2 separate regions of the Homo sapiens genome follow, and region 2 is linked to region 1. The links are contacts of gene promoters, found by promoter capture Hi-C in human tissues and cell types (Jung and others, 2019). All regions are on one chromosome and are shown on one strand. The core of a region is centred on a gene start or on the middle of the fragment in contact, and the rest is flanking DNA. Distances in the headings are between cores, read along the strand shown.

Evidence for each region. The method cuts DNA at HindIII sites, captures the fragments that hold promoters and counts their contacts. A contact is called where the count stands out against the background at its distance.
Region 2: a contact is called between a fragment that was not itself captured here and the fragment with the promoter of ZNF462 in region 1, in 1 of the 25 tissues and cell types used here (dorsolateral prefrontal cortex).

Annotation. Positions count from the first base shown.
Region 1 is chr9:106,861,559-106,865,243 of GRCh38, forward strand. It overlaps ZNF462 (zinc finger protein 462), which reads left to right and starts at 1,608. Exons shown (of 13, transcript NM_021224.6): 1 at 1,608-1,797. The HindIII fragment of the contact is 13,314 bases long and covers 1-3,685 here.
Region 2 is chr9:105,453,761-105,457,704 of GRCh38, forward strand. All of the region lies in intron 1 of FSD1L (fibronectin type III and SPRY domain containing 1 like), which reads left to right. Among named protein-coding and RNA genes, the nearest start is that of FSD1L, 7.7 kb to the left of the region's middle. The HindIII fragment of the contact is 4,090 bases long and covers 397-3,944 here.

The sequences.
Region 1 (3,685 bases), core at 358-2,857:
CTCTCCTGAGGCTGTTGATGTCCAACTCCAAGATCCAAGAAATAGAAATGGTACAATCAGCCCATGCCCTTGAACTTCAATTGCTCCTGACTTGCTGCATTGATTTTTTTGATACTGTAGAACCCCCATCCCCAACCCCCACCGCTCCCAGTCCAATTAAAACCGTAGGAGACTTTCGACCTGGTGGTGGAGGGGGGGAACCACTCCTTTGCAAAAGAGATAGTTCAGAATGATACGGGAGAGATTACACTAAATAAAAATTCAAGGTGTGAAAGCTTCATCTTGGCTCGCGTGTCTTCAACACCATGACACCTTATCATTAAGAGCGCTGATTGTTACTTTCCGAGCCTTTAGATGATCAGCCAGAAAGTGCAAACAACGCGGGGCTGGAGGGTGTAAAGTTATTTAAGCAGGCGTTCTTTTTTTCTTTTGGTGCGCAGTCAAAACATTTCACAAGTTAGGAAAAGAAAGTGGTGGTTCCGAAGCTCGGAATGATGGGCTCTTTTCCTCCTCCACCCCCCCACCTTCCATATCAGGAAAGAAATAAAACGCACAATGAGCCTTTATTTCAGGAGAGAAGACTTCAAAATACGTGCCAGTAATGGACAATTTGAGCTTTTCACTGGAAATACTCACACCGCAAGCTGGAAAGGGATTAAAAAGCCCCACGTGGTTGATCTGGGTTTATACTTGCAACCTCCAGTTCCCCACGTATGTTCTTTGCAAAGGTTGGCCTCTAGATGGATGCAAGTAAGGGACCCTCTGGGGCTCGGGCTCGGCGCCTCGGGCAGGGCTGACGTTGGGAGCGCTATGAGCTGCCGGGCAGGGTCCTCACCGGGGGCTTCCTCTGCGGGCCAGGGCTGCCGGGCGCCACCGGGACGCGAGCGCGCACGCCTCGGCCCGGCGGCCGCGCTCCTCGCACCGCCTTCTCCGCAGGTCTTTATTCATCATCTCATCTCCCTCTTCCCCTTCTCCTTCTCCTTTGCCTCCTTCTCCTTTGCCTCCTTCTCCTCCTCTTCCTCCCCCTCCTCCACCACCACCTCCTCCTCCTCTGCCGCCGCCACCTCCTCCTCTTGCATCTCACTGGCCTGGCTCTGAGTGACAAAGACAATGTCCCAGCCTTAACTTTGCAACCACCTTGCCTCCTTCTGGGGTTCAGCAGGGGGGAGGGGGAACAGCAGCAGCAGCCTCAGCATCTCCTCCAGCTTCTCCTTCTGCTCTTCTCGAGCTCTTGGATAATTCTTCCTCTTTTTTCCCCTAGCCTTTTTCCTCATTTCTTTCTTTCTTTCTTTTTTTCCTTCCTCTCTGCTGCACGTTGTTGTTGTTATTAGAAAGGCTTCGCGCACCCCCTGGTGCTCCGGCGTTTTGTGTGGCAGGAGAAGATTGTCTTCCTTCTCTCTTTCTGTCTTGCTTTCTCTCTCCCCCTGGTTGCTCATTATTCAGAGAGAGACACAGAGGGAGGGAGAGAGAGAGAGCGCGCGAGGGAGAGGGAGGAGAGGAGAGAGAAGAGGAGAGAGAGGGGAGAGAGAGAGTGAGAGGGAGAGGGAGGGAGGGAGAGAGAGAGAGAGGGAGAGAGACGGATATCTCAGGTCATCTGCAGCTGCAGCGAGTCTGAGGAGCCGAGGAAGGCAGGGAAGATGGCGATCCTCCATTGCTGAGACCCGGCAGAAGCACATGAGACTCCCAAACAACTTCCACAACAATAACCCGAGCAGGAAGAGGAGAAAGAGAAAGAGGATAAGGAGGCGGTGGGGCTGGAGAACCCGAAGCACCTCCCGGCGCCGGGACGCTTCTTCTGTAAGTTACTGCAATTAACAACCACCTCGGGGTGGTCCGAGTGCTCCGGGGAAGAGAGCGCGGGGTGGTGGAGGCACAAACGCGCTCATTCATTCGGCCAAGGAGGGTTGGAGGAGCGGGGAGGAGAGGAAGTCCCCTGCATGGACTGGCTGTTGGAAGAGGAGAAGAAGCGAGAGAGAAGAGGAGGAGGGGGAGGAGGGAGAGCAGGAGGGGGAGGAGGAAGAGGAGGAGGAGAAGCGAGGGAGGAAGAGGAGGAGGAGGAAGAGGAGGAGAAGGTGGTAGTGGTGGCAGTGGAGGTGGCTGTGCTTTTCCTGCTGGCTGCTGCTCCTGCTGGGGGGAGTGAGCGCGGTGGCTTAATTAATTTCGTGTAGTTCTATGAAGAGAAGAGAAAATGAAAGATGAGTGAGAAGAGAGCTGGAGGCTTAGGACGGATGCTCCGAGTGTGGGGACAGGAGTAGGGACAGAGGGGGGCGGAGGGCGGGAGGCCGGAGACCTGAGCCGAGAGCCAGAGGGAGCGAGCGAGGGTCAGAGGAGGGAGAGCTCCGTGCGAGCGGCCCCGACCTGAGCGGGTTGACCTCTTTCTTTCTCTGTCCCTCTCCTTCCTTTCCCCCTTCTGTCTGCCTGTCCCCCGCCCGATGGCAAAGCCGTGCGGATTGGCAGCCCCCCTCTTCCTCAGGTATTTGGCTCTCTCTCTCTCTCTCTCTCTCTCTCTCTCTCTCTCTCTCTCTCTCTCTCTCTCTCTCTCTCTCTCTCTCCCTCTCCCCGAAGTTGGGATGCGGGGTCGGGATGTGTCGGGGGGTGGCTGCTGCAGCTGCTGGTGCCGGTGCTGCTGGTGAACAGAGAGGCGAGGAGCGGGGGGCACCGGCCGGGTGGGGGGCGCAGGTTCAGGAGCGGCTGAGGAGCTGTCTCCAGGCTGGAGGTTCAGAAGCGTCTGGTGGAGGAGGACAACGGTTTCTGGAGAGGAGAAGCCATTACACACGCTTGGCTCTCCTCTGAGGAAGGGAGAAAGGAAGGCAGGGGCCTGGGGGGGCGTCTCACTCCTGGTGCAGTTCCCAGGGGTCTGCCCTCCTTCCAGGCACGAGGGGAAGCCGCAGCCGCCCCCCATTGGAGCAGCCCCTCTTTCCCTTTCTTTATCTCCCTGTCCTCCATTTGCAAGCTGTCTGCTTTGGTTCCAGTCCAGACTCCAAAACACAAAGCTCCTTCTCACGTTCATTCTCCAGGCTGTTCACCATTCCTGAAGGAACCCTCGTTTTCTTTTCATTGTGGCTTCTAACCTACAGAGAGGGAGGGAGGGAGGCTGCCTGGAGTTCCTTTTATATTCCTCCCCAACCAAGAAAAAAAAAAGTTTCATTTTTAAGCACGCGTCTGGGATGGGGAAAGACCAACCAGTTGGGGCTTTCTCCCAGGGCTCCCGGGGGCTGTGTCTGAGTGTCTGTGTTGGCTGTTTGGTTTGCTTTGGTTTTGTTTCTGGAGGTTGCTTGCAGGTTTTTGGAGGAAGTGACTAGTTTGGTTAAGAGCTGGGAACTGAGTCAGGTAAGCCGTGTCATGTTGTAACTCCACCAGAAAATGGAGGAGAGCGGGTTTCCAGGAGACAAAGCTGAGATGAGAAGTGTTTATAAAATTATGGATGTCTCCATTTTGAAGCTCTGTTGGTGATGGCTGGAGGAGGAGGAGGCTTGCTTGCCTACTCCTTCTCTCTTTCCAGAGGGAAACCTTGTGGTGGTTCCTCACTGTCTATTCATTATGCAAGGAAATGAGGGCTTTTAAGGGTTCCTCAGATTTTTCTCCACCAAAGAGTGCTTTCACAAGTTATTGAGGCGTTTGTTTCCATTTTAAAGTAAACTTTTGGAATTTTTTTTCTCCTTTTGAGTGGACCTGAAGGGTTTTG
Region 2 (3,944 bases), core at 1,192-3,691, 1.4 Mb before region 1:
TGCGTGGCTGAATGTAAGCAGGATTATTTATACAGTAAACACATATTGAATGTTTGCTGTAGTGCTAGATATTCTACTCTTAGGGTGGAAAATATTTTAAAGTTGGTGGATTTTATCTCCAGACTTTTAAAAATATGTTTTTCACTCTTTGTTGGCACTTCTTCCCAGCCACAAGGTTCTGATAGAATCTGGTTTCAGTTATTGATGCTTGTTGATTGCTGTTAATTGAATTTTGAACTAATTTATTAAAAAAGTATTAACGTAGCCAGCTTTTGCATTTCTATTGCATTATAAATATAGGTAATACAAGTTTATTGTAGGAAAATAAGAATATAAATAAAGTGAAAATAAAATAAAAACCACTCAATTCTGCCACCCAGAGATAACCTCTTCAACATTTATGTCACCATCTAGTTTTTTGGTATGCATATAAAAACTTTTCTAAAATTATGGTATCATGCTATATATGCTGCTCTATAATTTGCATTTCACATAATAAATTATGGATATTTTTCCATATTAATCATTCTACAATACTTTTAATGATTCAACAGAATTCTTTTGTATGCATGTTTTACAGTACCCTTTTGTTGTATCTTTTTGTTGATCCCAACCTTTTAATGTTATAAATATCACAGATAAGCATCCTTGTAGCCAAGTCTCTGCTTACACCCTTAATTATTCACTTACAATAAATTAGAAATGGAATTACTGAGTCAATGTATATCTATTTCAAAAATTTTATTTGATACATATTGTCAAGTTGCCCTTGAGAAGGGTTGTTAGTTTATACTAATACTCGCATCTCCACTCCAATGCCACCTTCTTTCATTAAATGGTAGGACCTCTGGTTTCTTTGGCCGACTATGAGCCTCCTTGACTTTACTGGGTAAAACAGCCAGTTCAAAGGCCACTGCACATGGTTAAGGCTTCTTTATCCTCTGGTGTGCTTTATTTTCCTCAAATCCTAGATGGGAGATTACCTCCTCATATGCTGTGATATCTTAAACTGGGTTCAGGGCAGAAAGGCAGCATTCCCCAGCCAGTTCTTTTACTAGCATTTAGACTTTTTCTCAGCTGGTAAGCTAGACAATCAGAATTGATTGTAGGCTGTCTCAGTTACATCTGTGTACAGGTAGTGTTCTCAACTGTTTCACTGTTAGAGAGGGTGTAGCCTTCCATCATTTAGGTATATTATGATTAGATTCCTGAATTTCCCAGTTCTCTTTTTTTCACCTTCTTGCATCACATCTGAGCATGATACTTTTGTTAAAATAACTGGTGAGATTCTGATTATCTAGCTAACAGCTGGATAGCGCTTTCTTGATTCCGCTCTTTATCACTGTATGGTAAACCTACCTAACAGCAGTAGTTTAAGCATACTATTAGAATGATCCTGTATGGCAGACTCACCTGAATGTGTCTTCTGAGCTTCACTGGGCTGTGTAGTTACCTTGTCCAGCCCACTGCCACTGGACCTTTTCTGTATATAAGGCAGTTCTCCTGCTCAGCCTGCCACCACTGGACTCTCTCCCTTGTATGTAATCCCTTAATAAAATACCATGCCTCATTTGGTGGCTCTGGGTTTCTTCAGCCTCTTGAACCTGGTGCCATCCCCACTGGAGTCGATGGAGGGGTTCAGCATGAAGTCACCTAATTCAAAGGACAGGTCTATGTGTGGGATGATGCAAGTGGCATCATTTCTGGTGGCATTATTGGGCATTTTCCAGGAATGTTACATGCTGATTTGATCAATCCCTTTCCTCTGGTTGCAGGAACCCTATGATTATTTCATACAATCCCCAACAGTTTAGGCAGCCTAGGGTACAGGCTCTGGAGGCAACCTCCTGGATTTGAAAAGCAGAGGTTCTGGGGACAACCTCCTGAATTTGAATCATGACTGCCAGTTGATAGCTGTGTGACCTAAAACAAGTTTCTTAACATCTTGAATCTTTCCTTTTTCCAACCATAAAATGTGAAGACTCATACTACTTTTTTATCAGATTTGATGATTAAAAAGTTACTCCATATTAGCAGCACAGTGCCTGGCACATAGAAGGTGCTTAATGAAATACTAACTAAATTGGCTATAATAATAGTTTGACCCCCTTAAATTATAGATCTATTTGTGGTATTTGCAGGGGCTCTAGATTTTTGTATCTTGATTTTTTGGAATACTACTGTAGAATTTGACTCAGAAGTCTTCTCCTCCTCTGAGAAGATGCTGGTGGGAAACCCATATGTCAGCATTTCTCTAATTATGACCACATGGATGCTGATGCCCTCTGATTTGGGGTTATAACCTGTTGATCAGTTCCAGGTTTCCAGATTGTTGATCAGTTCCAGATTTCTAATCTTGAAGTAAAATCTTAGTCCTTTGGATGCCTTTAGCCGTTCTGACCTTTTCATGAACCTCTGATCTCTGTTTTATTAGGTAGTACAGTGTAGTCCTTTAAGAGCATAGACTTAGGAATCAAACTGTCTTAATTTGAATCCTGGCTGTGTGACATATTAGCTTTGATATTCTAGGCAAGCTGCTTAACTTCTCCATGCGTCAGCTTCCTCATTGGAAAATGAGGATAATAATAGTAACTTACTTCATAGGATTCTTGAAAGGATTAAATGAATTAATAATATGTATAGAGCTTAAGATAGTACTTGGCACTTAAGAGTACCAAAGTGCTCTTTTGCTCAGTCTATTGATTATCCTTTTACTTGATTGATAATGATTATAAACATAACTTTAAGCTGTGCTGCGTTGAAGAGAGTAACTTATATCTTGTACATCTTAGATTACTTTGATTCATTCCATAACAGTGGTTGCAGTTGTGCTTGGCTAGGGTGTATATGATGCTTTTTCTTGTTGGTGTAGCAGTTGCCTTAGTCTAAATCCATAGTCACATCATTGTATTTTTTTGTTGTTGTTATGAGGGCCTGGTAATTGTGCTACATCACCAAAAGACATTTGCTGAGATTGCCTGTGCAGACTTCCTATGGAGACTTATCTCATATATTTTACTATGATCTAGCAGAATTGGCATTTGTCAAAACATGTCTTCAGACCTGTGTCACCTAGAACTTTTAGTTGTCACCACATGAATCTTATAAAATATAATTTTCTAGATAAGCTTCAGATAATTTATATTGCCTTTATTCATCTCTGTTTATCTATTTATCCATCAGTGTTTGTAAGGTAACGGGAGGCTTGAGATCTGATATAAAAATCTGAGACCTTCGTAGGCATCCTTTAAGGTTGATAGAATCCCATGGGGCAGATGAAAGTTGTCTTTGCCCTTCTTTACCCATAAGGCTTTGATTAGAAAAAAAAATGAAATGACTATATGTAACATGGGCTCATTCTATAAGTACATTTTTGGAATTTGTTTTATCAGTACATTGTGTATATGTTTTAGGACAGAGGTTATAGGTAGAGAAACTGATAAGTGAGAGGGCTCCTAGGTAGAAAGCAAGTCAGATTAGATAAATTCATAGCAGGCTATGCAGCTGGAGTGTAACAAGGGAGAGGAAGTCTGGGGAGATGAAGCAGGTGAGGTAGGCAGTGGACAGATCATTTGAGATCTTATAGGTCATGTTAAAGATTTTCAGTTTTATCCAAGGTACAATGGGAAGCTATTGAAGAATACTGATCAGGAAGAGTGATGCTATCATTACCCTAGCTGAAGTATATAGAGAACTGATTACTGGGGAGAAAGATTGTTACCAGAGTCTGATTAAGAAAAATTTTGCTACAGTGAAGGTTGAGATATAGGTTGAGATATGATAGTAACTTTTACTAAGATAGTAGTAATAATTCTAATGTCACAGGATACTTTGGATGTTTCTTAACCAGCTAGAAACCTCTGTAGCTGGCAGTGTCTCTCCTTGAGTTTCACTCATGCCGGCTGGGCTTGTTCTGCCCACTTGGCCTGGCAGGCTGTGCTTAG